3 separate regions of the Homo sapiens genome follow, and regions 1 and 2 are each linked to region 3. Evidence: promoter capture Hi-C in human tissues and cell types (Jung and others, 2019). All regions are on one chromosome and are shown on one strand. The core of a region is centred on a gene start or on the middle of the fragment in contact, and the rest is flanking DNA. Distances in the headings are between cores, read along the strand shown.

Region 1 (3,695 bases), core at 894-3,393, 340 kb before region 3:
AGCTTTTTTGTTCCTCATTTTCTGCCTTACTATCTTCTTTTGTATTTAATTTTTTGTAGTGAAATATTTAAATTTCTTTCTAATTTCTTTCTGCATGTATTCTATATCTGGTGTTTTTTTGTTTGTTTGTTCGTTTTTGTGGCTACCATGGGGATTACATGTAACATCCCAACATTATAATGCTCTAATTTGAATTTATACAGCTTCAGTTTAGTAACATACAAAACCTCTGCTTCTTTACCATTCTCTCCCCACCCCTTTTGGTTGTTGATATCACAGAATCGTGTCTTTATACATTGTGTGCCCCAAAACATAAAGTTATAATTATTTTAAATTTATTAGTCTCTTACATTATGTAGAAAACAAAATGTGAAGTACAAACCAAAGTTATAATAACATTTAGACTAATAATTTCTTAAATCACATAGAAAATAAAAAGTGGAGTTATAAGCCATTTTTACGATAATACTGGCTTTTATGATTTCTTATGCGTTTGCCTTTATTGAAATCTTTATTTCTTCATACAGCTTTGAGTTACTGTCTAGTGTCTTTTCATTTTGCCTTGCAGGACCCCTTTGAGCATTTCTTGTAGGGTGGATCTACTGGTAATAAACTTTCTTAGCTTTGGTTATCTTGAGATGTCTTAATTTCTCCTTCACTTTTGAAGGATGCATTTGCTGGATGTAGGATTCGTGGTTAACATTTTTTTTTTCTTTTAGCACTTCAAATATATTGGCCAGCTGCTTCCTGGACTCCAAAGTTTCTCATGAGAAGTTCTCTGATAATCTTAATTAGGATCCCTTGTGTGTGACAAGTTGCTTTTTTCTTTCTGCTTTCAAGATTCTCTCTTTGTCTTTCAAAAGTTTGATTACAATGTGTCTCAGAGTGGGTCTCTTTAGTTTATTTTACTTCTTGGGTGTCTATATTCATGTCTTGTATCAAATTTATTATGTGTATATATTTGTGTAACCACCACCAAAATCAAGATAAAGAACAGCTTCATCATTGCAAGGCTCCCTTGTGCTACCCCTTTATAGCCACAACCAGTCCCCCTTCCCCTCATTCCTAATTCTTGACAACAATTAACGTGTTCTCCATCTCTATAATTTTGTTATTTAAGTAATGTTATATAAATGAAATAATACTGTATGTAGCCTTTTGAGATAGGCTTTTTTTTTTCAACTCAGCATAATTCCCATGAGATTCATCTAGATTGTTACACGTATTAATAGCCCATTCCTTTTTATGACTGAATCCTAGTCCATGGTATGGATATACCAGTTTGCTTAACCACTCGCCCATTGAAGTATACTTGGGCTATTTTCAGTTTTGAGATGTTATGAATAAAGTGGCTATAAACATCTGAGCATAGGTTTTGGGTGACTATAACTTTTCATATCTCTGGGATAAATGCCCAAGAATGTAATTGCTGATTTTATTCTTTTTTAGAGAGTACCTTGGATCATCTTGGCTCTTTGCTCTTTCACATATATTTTAGAATTGGCTTGTCAAAATTATGAAAAACACTTTAAAGTTTTGATAGAAATGGCACTGAATCTATGAGACATTTGGGTGAGAATTTAGGATATTGAGACTTTCTAGCCATTGATAATATTTCTCTCTTTTTACTTAATTCTTCTTAATGTATTTCAATAAAGCATCATGATCTTCTTTGTATCAGTACTGCAATTATTCCCAGGTGCCCATACCAGTCAGGAAAGACTGGTTGTGTTATGGCAATAAAACAACCAAAAAAGTTTATTTCTTCCTCATGCTACATGTTCATCATGAGTCAGGGGGCTCTATTCCACATTTTAATTTTTTTCTATCTGTTTTTTCACCTTCTAAAATCCTTAGAATGTTCCACATTTTCATCATTCTTACTTTGAGGCTCAGCCTGAAAGGGAAGCTACTGTAGAACATTGCCAGTTGTGGAGGGAAAAGGGAACTTGGAGAAGCATGCACTGGCTCTTAGGCTTCTGGCTGGGAGTCTGTCACTTCTGCTCACTCTGCATTGGCTAAAGCAAGTCTAAGGCTAGCACTTCTCATATCATGTCTCTCTCTCTCTCTCTCTCTCTCTCTCTGTGTGTGTGTGTGTGTGTGTGTGTGTGCGTTTCTGTCTCTATCTCTCTCCACACGTACACACACCCTCTCCAAGCATCTTGGGAGACCTGAGCCAACACATAAGAAGTCTAGCTACCCTGAAGCCACCATACTAGAGAGATCATGTGTAAAGACCTCACAGAAATAGCGAGAGATGCCTCCAAAACTGAGCTGGCAAGTATTCTCTCTTTTTCTATCGTCCACAAAAACTCCTATAAGATTGGAATGATCTTCTCCTTGAAAATTTCATATAACTCACCTGGAAAATATCAGGGCTTGGTATTTTCTTTGCGGGAACACTTTAAATACTGATTGAATTTCTTTAATTATTATAGAGCTATTCATTCTGCCTTTCTAGTCTTGAATCTGTTTTGGTAAATTATATTTTCTAGGACGTTTTCCATATCATCTAAGTTTTGAATTATTAGCATTGATTTGTTTATACTTTTATGTTTAAATGTTCACTATAACCATAGTTATAGATTTTTATCTCGTTTTCAGTTTTCAGTATTGCTTATCTGTACATGCTGTTTATCTCTGTCTCTTAAATTTTTCCAGAAGTCTTTCAACTTCAAAGAATCAATTTTGGCTTTGTTGATCCTCCGTTTTCAGTTTCATTACTTTCTCTACTTATTGTTATTTTTTTCTTCCTACTACTTTCCTCATGGTTATTCTGCTGTTCTTTTTCTGATTTCCCAAGTTGGAGATTTAGCTCATTATTTTTATTCTCTCTACTTTTTAAATTATAAGCATTTAAAGTTATTAATTTCCAACCTTTTCGGTGTTGAAGTCTTAATTTCGGCAATTTTGTTTTTTATTTCTACAATTTATGTTTGACATTTTTTCATATCAAGGTCATTTTTATAGTCTTGTTCCTCTATCATGTTTTAAAATCTTCTTAAAAACCTGTCAATTCCTCATTTGTTTTACTTCATATGGTCACGTCAATGCTGAAGTCTTTGCGAGTCTGATTTTGCTGTTAATTTCTCTGCTGACTTTCTTTCTTTTTCTTTTTCTTTTTTTTTGAGATGGAGTCTCGCTCTGTCGCCCAGGCTGGAGTGCAGTGGCGCTATCTCAGCTCACTGCAAGCTCCACCTCCCAGGTTCACGCCATTCTCCTGCCTCAGCCTCCCGAGTAGCTGGGACTACAGGCGCCTGCCACCACGCCCGGCTAATTTTGTTTTTGTATTTTTAGTAGAGGCAGGGTTTCACTGTGTTAGCCAGGATGGTCTCGATTTCCTGACCTCGTGATCTGCCCCCCTCGGCCTCCCAAAGTGCTGGGATTACAGGCGTGAGCCACTGCGCCCGGCCTCTCTGCTGACTTTCTCACATGGTGTCTTTTCCTCATATGTATCCTGTAATTTTCATTGTGATCTCATGTTTGTTGGAACTGCACCTGTGAATAATCTTCAAAATTTACATTAAAGGTGTATTCCATTAGAAAGGATTTGTTTTTCCTCTGCTAAGTACATTAGGGACACACCAAACTTGGGACCACTTTACATTCTTGGCTTGGAATTGTTTTGACCAAACAGGTAGCATGAATTTTGGCACCAATGCTTTGTGAAGGACAACTTAATGCTTATGAGTTAT
Region 2 (3,426 bases), core at 625-3,124, 500 kb before region 3:
GCTATCTAACCAGCCAACCAGCCACAGTGAGAAGGAACTAGCAGTACAGGGTGGTGAGCAGCCTGGGGTCAAGGAGCCTTGCCAGAGTTAGAGATGGCTGGAGTCTGGACAACCAGAGCTGGTGATACAGAGTCTATATTATAGACCAACAGAAATGTCATTTTGTGGCTCTTCTAAACGCCCATCAGGAAGCCTTCAAACCATCCTCTACCTGGTCATAGTCAAGGAGGAACTTTCTATATGCAGATACCTCATCTCTTAACACCTCATAAGCTCCCGACTGTTTACTTAAGAAGTGAAGAACACTGAGAACGGCATGGGAGGCTTACATGAGTAGGTCACTGTCTTTCTCCCCAATTTCTCAACACTACCCTGCCCCATCTCCCCATAATCCAATTCTTTGCTCTGACCAAGTGGAATTTCTGGCAGTTCCCTGCATACTACACTGTCTTGAGCCCACCGGTGTCCTGGCGATCTTGCAATCCTTTACAATCTAACTCAGCATCTTCTCCTCTCCGGAGAAGGCTTTCCTGCCCACCTTCTTCTCTGATACCCCACAAAGTTAAACAGGTGCCACGGCTGGACCAACGCACTCTCACCCTGCTCTTCTCCCACTGCATCCATTTATATGTTGATGTGTCTGTATTTTCAATTTGGTGGAGTCTGCCAGGGCAGAGACCACCATATCTTGTTTATTACTGTAGGACATATCATTGTGCTAAATAATGACTGGATGGATGGATGGGAGGAGAGAGGGAGGGGAGGGAACTCAAGAATGTCTCCAGGCAGGTGACAGTGTGGATCTGGAGGAATACGTCAAGGGGTTAACAAATGGATCGTTGTGAATACTGTGAGAATGAAAGCAATCACAAGAGAAAAGGACGGCAGATTGAAAACGAGAGAGGATCAAAGGCAGAATCTGGGACTCCTTCAGTTATGGGTGGCTGGAAGGAGGTGCCAGCAAAGAAGGCTGAGGGGTCAGGTGAGGAGGAAGAGGCTCAGGAGACCGCAGGGCCGCAGACACAAAGGGTGGAAAGACTTTCTATCTGTAACTTCAAAACAGGTGTGGGGATGGTCCGTGGAGAAATGCCACTGACTCATTAAGACCTCTATAACAAAAAGAGGGCAACAAATGAGGGAAACGTTATTAAAATCAGGACACCAAATTCAAAAGTGCAAAACTTAGGTATAGGCTGAGGTTATAGTTCTCTGCTGACTAGGGGCTGTCAGCAGCTGTCTCAAATTCTGTGCAGGGACAGCTCATTGAAATCACCCGCGGGCTTTCACACACACTGCTTTAACCACCAGAGGTTCAGATTGGATTAGTCTGGGGTACAGTGTGGGAGTCAAGAGTGTAAAAATCCCCCAGGTGATTCTAAAGAGCAGCTAAACCTGAGAACCACTTCCACACCTCCTGGGTGTCCACAGTCCCCATCTTGGTTCCTCATTCTCCGGAGCCTGTCATTGCTAGTCCCATCCTGAGGAGAAAGGTACTGCCTGTGTCTACCACTTCCACATCAGAATGTAAGAGTCGGAAGAACTGTCCCTGGCCCCCACCCCCAGGCCAGGCCAGGTATCTGGGGTTGTCTGAGGTCAGAGCTGCATCTCCTGAGTCCCTGGACTCTCAGTCCTACAGTTTTTCTTCTTCCTTGCTTACTCCAAACAGAGCTATGGAAAACAAGAAACAAAAACATACTCTGTTCTTGGTTCAATTAAGACAAGGCTGTAATTTTTTTAAAAGGAACTTTTCTAAAGAACTAAGAAAAGGGAAGCAGAAAACACAAAGGAGTTCAAAGGATGAATATAGAATACAATTTTAAGGTTTCTAATCATAGTTTACACTCAGTTGAGACCATCTGGCACAGGCTGGGGAAACCCTTTCCCAAGGTCCTTGCTGCAATTCTGCCCCAGCTAAACTAAAAGGAAAAAGAGGTGATTCTAACATTAAGACAGAAGGAGCCCTGCTCACAAGGACATTTCAATACATTTGGATTAAAATGTACAGGGTGGATGGGCAGTGTTCCTACCGGGCCTTCCAGCCCACCTCCCCTAAAATAAAATAAAATGATGTATAGTGATTAGAATCTTGAGTTCTTATTACACACGCGTTTGAGTTTTTACTTTTGCAACGAGGTCCTTCTATTTAGACAGTCTCCCCACACTTAGAGTTCTGGGAGATACACAAAGCATGGAGTTGAGAATGCTTTCTTGCAGGGTCCTGGGATTAGGCAAAATCTGCAAACTGCTATCATCTTTTGAAACAATGTTTAATTAGGGGAAGAAAGGGCTTGAGCACAGGCCTCCCCTCCCCACACCACCCCCCTCTTCAAGGGGAGTAACCTTCCAGTCCATTCCAACACCTGGCTGCCCCCAAACCTGAGGCGCCATAGAAACAGAAACAATCGTGGGGCTGCAAGCCGACCCTTCCTGCAGGGAGAATAGCCCCTGACGTGCAGAGCTGGCTCCAAGAGGAAACGAGCCTGAGAAGGAGGAAATGGCAAGAGGAAGCTACACCCTGGCTGCCGATAGAGGCCATTTACCACAGCAGACAACAGAATGCAGGGGACGGGCAGCAGATAAACACTCATTTGCAGCCTGGGGCTGAAGCTCAGCACTGACCTGCACCTACTAAAAACATGCAGTTGGTTGGTGTGAAACATTATAGGGGCCCAAAATTTTCCCTTCTCAATCCCCAACTCGCTGCAGGTAATTATGTCATTCACATGAAAACACAAAAACAAGAAAGTCTTAGCAGAAGACTAAGATTTTCTTTTACTAAATTAACTGTAGTTAGCAATAAGTATTGCCCTATATGGTCCAGAATGCTCTTTGGAAATATAATTGTCTCTGGAGTGTCTAACTCACGGCTGTACTGACTAGGTATACACCTGCTAGGTGTATTATGCCCAGAATCTCACTGATGCCTCACTAAGGCAGTGACAGATGTGTTACCCCATTTTCACAGGTGAATACACGGAAGCCACAGTCATGCAGCAGTTATGGTGAGGCCAATTATTACCAACTCCAGAGTCCATGCTTTATGCTCAAATGATTTCACGTAAAATGTTAATTCCAATTTCCAAATAATGTGCCTTTTCCCCTAATCCATTTTAACCCATTTCATGTTTCCAAAACATTAAACTTGGAGCCTCTTAAGACTCTATTTTCCTCCTGGAATCAGAAACAGGGCTGCCCGACAATTTTTTACTCATATCTTTGATCAGTGCTCAAGCTTTTAAAATTACTTTAATATTTTCTTATTGAATAAATCTAAACATCTGAACAAAAGCAGGTACAATTCAGAAACCCTGAAATTTAGCGAGGAGAATAAAGACAAATTAAATCAAAACCAGTCTTCATTTGCACTTTTTTCCATAAGAGGTTTTTTCTGTTTAAATCACAGGCAAAGACAGACATAACAGTTTT
Region 3 (3,373 bases), core at 173-2,672:
GCCGGGCATGGTGGCACACGCCTGTAATCCCAGCACTTTGGGAGGCCGTGGCGGGCGGATCATGAAGTCAGGAGATGGAGACCATCCTGGCTACACAGTGAAATCCCGTCTCTACTAAAAATACAAAAAATTAGCTGGGCACAGTGGTGGGCGCCTGTAGTGCCAGCTACTCGGGAGGCTGAGGCAGGAGAATGGCATGAACCCGGGAGGCAGAGGTTGCAGTGAGCCAAGACCACGCCACTGCACTCCAGCCTGGGCGACAGAGCCAGACTCCGTCTCAAAAAAAAAATAGACGGTTTCTCCCTGTCCTCAAGCTCCACCCTTGCACTAGAGGGTGGTTCAAGAATGGAAAGCAGAGAGTGGAGAAGATGAAGTCCTTCTCTTTCTCTTTGCATACATAGAGCAAGCTATACCAGAGAATCAGATAGCAAGCCCTCCCTCAGAGGCCAAGGGAGCAGAAGAGCCATGGATGGGCCCCTTCCCAGGACAGCAGGGGTAGAAGTGGGAAAGGTGAGCATTTGTGACTATTCTATTACTCTGACCTCCCAGGACTGGACCTACAGAGACATCTGGGATTTTCTGCGTCAGCTGTTTGTCCCATACTGTATCCTGTATGACCGAGGGTAAGGGTATTAGGGGAAGGGAATGGGTAAGGGAGTTTTTAGGGTGCTGGGATAGGGAGGGCCAATAGGATCGCCCACCCTACCACATGCTTGCCCTCCACCCTCCCTGCTCCAGATACACATCACTGGGGAGTCGGGAGAATACCGTGCGGAACCCGGCCCTGAAGTGCCTGAGCCCAGGAGGACACCCCACATACCGTCCAGCCTATCTACTGGAGAACGAAGAAGAGGAGCGGAACTCCCGCACATGACCTCCCACCCTAGGAGGGAGGGAAGGACACCGTCCTAGGGTATAACCTGGCAATAAACCGTGCCTCTCACTGTGCCTGTTGCTCTAGCTGTGTCTTCCTGCTCCAGAGGATGGGAGAAGCAGAAGTGGGTCAAATGCTGCCAGCTCTGACTGGCTGTGCTCACTCTAAGGGGCCCAGGGGCAGGGCAGAACAGGCTGGAAAGGAGCTCTCACTGATGGTTCTCAATGTCAGCCTCAGCAGGAGCCCACCAGAGGGCGAAAGCAGGAGTTGTGCCAACCACTGGGAAAAGGGCAATCAGGCAGGGCACCACCTGGGCTGGAAGAGGGGAAGCTGCCTTGGCCTAGCTGTGGAGGATGAAAGATGGAGTGGCCAGGCCCTCCCTCCCACTAACCCCACCCTCCCATCCCTGTCTAGAGGGGCTGACTCAGCCTGTTCCCAGGCCTAGAACCTTCCCTTTGCTAGACCCTGGATCCTTTGTCTCTGTAGTCATGAGGCTGAAGGGGGTGGGGACAGTGTTGATAAAAGGCACTAGAGGCAGCTCCCACACCCTTCCTCGGAACTGTTGCCCACATGCAGCCCCGGACACAGCCCCTAGCCCAAACCCTACCCTTCTTCCTCGGAGGGGCCCCTCGAGACACTGGGCTGCGGGTGCCTGTCATTAAGATGGGCACAGGGTGGGAGGGCTTCCAGCGGACCCTGAAGGAAGTCGCCTACATCCTCCTCTGCTGCTGGTGTATCAAGGAACTGCTGGATTAATGGTAGCAGGGAACTGCCTCCTCTCCCCACCAGCACCATGGCTGGCATCGCTCAGGTGGGCAGGGTAGAGTAAACAGGAGGCATAGCTGCAGCTTCTGTGGCAGAGCTTGCCTTAGCTTCTCATTCTCTTCTTTAGCCCCCAGCCCAATTGCCATCAAGACTCCTGAAGCCAGCTGTGCTTGACCAAGGATGGGCCATAAACAATGAGTAAACAGTAAAGTGTGGATCCTGCTTTGAGCTGTGTCATCTAGCAGACCTGCCTCATCTCTGAGCCTCCTTCATTCCCAACCCCTGCCTCTGGTGGACCTCTGGTGGGCAGGAGCTTGGACTGCTCTGGCTAGGACCCCAGTAAGATTGTGGCAAGACCTGGCACTCCTCCAAGCTTGGCACAGTGAGCCCACCAGCTCAGATGGTTGATCTTACCATACCCTCATAGTACCAAGAATGGACTGCCCCCTAAGAAACCTGTTTGAGAATCACTGAATTATAAATATAATCCATAGGCCTTGAGGCCCAAGATTATAAGTGTCTAAAGGGGAATCAGAAAAAGTCAGCACTAGAACGGTCTGGGAGCAAGGGTGCAGACCAGGGAGGGAAGGAGCTTGTCCTGAATAGAACCAAGATTGAAAGCCAGGTTTTCTGACTCACTGGTTCCTGAGTGGGGAGGGTGGAAGACAGTTCAGGTTCCTCTCAATCTGTGGGTAAGGAGGGGACCCAGCTTGAGTAGGGTCTTCATCTGTGAGGCCAAGGGTGTGTGGAAACCCAGAGGACCCAGCCCTTTCCCAAATAGAAGACCTGGTCCAGGCAGCTTCCTGCCTCTGAGGATCTTGGGGAAAGCACTGCGCTGAGGCTAGTCCCCAGCTCATCAAGGAAGTAGGACCCCATGAGCTACAAGAGCTCCCAGCTCACATACAAAGTTACCAGAGAAAGACACCTGTGTGGCCACACAGGTCCCTCAGGCTTATCATGACACAGCCCTATCAGGACATAAACAGCTAGATTGAGCAGAATTGGCTCTTTACTTCCTCTTGGTAGCCACAGCTGGTATTTTCCATGAGTTACTCCCGGTGGTAGATATACACCAGCCATGTGTATCGTCTTGCTCAGGGGGTGCTTATGCTTACTGATCTGCCCACCCACAGCCCCCCAAACCTCAGAGCCAGCCTGTTTGGGACTGTTCAGTATTTCCCTGGGATTCCCATCCAGCATTCTCTGGCCCCTCCTGGGGGGCCAGTTATCATCCCCCAGCCCTTTGTCACTTGGGGCACTGGCCTGGAGATTATAGATAGTGCCCTCTTCCTCCCTGCCTGGGACCAGCTCTTCCTCAGCCTTCTTCTTAGTTAACTCTTTTTTTTTTCTAGATTCTTTTTGTAAAGGTGATATATGCCCAGAGTAAAGAACTTTAGGCCAGGCCAGGTACAGTGGCTCACACCTGTAATCCCAGCACTTTGGGAGGCAGAGGCGGGCAGATCACCTGAGGTCAGGAGTTCTAGACCAGCCTGGCCAACATGGTGAAACTGCATCTCTACTAAAAATAATTAGCTGGGCGAGGTGGTGAGTGCCTGTAATCCCAGCTACTTGGGAGGCTGAGACAGGAGAATCACTTGAACCCGGGAGGCAGAGTTTGCGGTGAGCTGAGATCATGCCACTGCGCTCCAGCCTGGGGGACAAGAATGAAACTCTGTCTCAAAAAAAAAAAAAAAAAAAAAGGCCGGGCGCGGTGGCTCACATCTGTAATCCCAG

The links. The method cuts DNA at HindIII sites, captures the fragments that hold promoters and counts their contacts. A contact is called where the count stands out against the background at its distance.
Region 1: a fragment that was not itself captured here is called in contact with the fragment with the promoter of LENEP in region 3 in 1 of the 25 tissues and cell types used here (IMR-90 fibroblasts).
Region 2: a fragment that was not itself captured here is called in contact with the fragment with the promoter of LENEP in region 3 in 1 of the 25 tissues and cell types used here (liver).

The regions. Positions count from the first base shown.
Region 1 is chr1:154,655,752-154,659,446 of GRCh38, forward strand. No RefSeq gene overlaps it. Among named protein-coding and RNA genes, the nearest start is that of ADAR, 49 kb to the left of the region's middle. The HindIII fragment of the contact is 9,513 bases long and covers 1-3,695 here.
Region 2 is chr1:154,490,953-154,494,378 of GRCh38, forward strand. All of the region lies in intron 2 of SHE (Src homology 2 domain containing E), which reads right to left. Among named protein-coding and RNA genes, the nearest start is that of TDRD10, 9.6 kb to the right of the region's middle. The HindIII fragment of the contact is 7,313 bases long and covers 1-3,426 here.
Region 3 is chr1:154,992,164-154,995,536 of GRCh38, forward strand. LENEP (lens epithelial protein) reads left to right here and starts at 1,423. Exons shown (of 1, transcript NM_001394530.1): 1 at 1,423-2,152. The coding sequence starts at 1,445. The coding sequence ends at 1,630. It overlaps FLAD1 (flavin adenine dinucleotide synthetase 1), which reads left to right. Exons shown (of 7, transcript NM_025207.5): 6 at 550-623; 7 at 739-948. The coding sequence ends at 874. The HindIII fragment of the contact is 8,242 bases long and covers 1-2,940 here.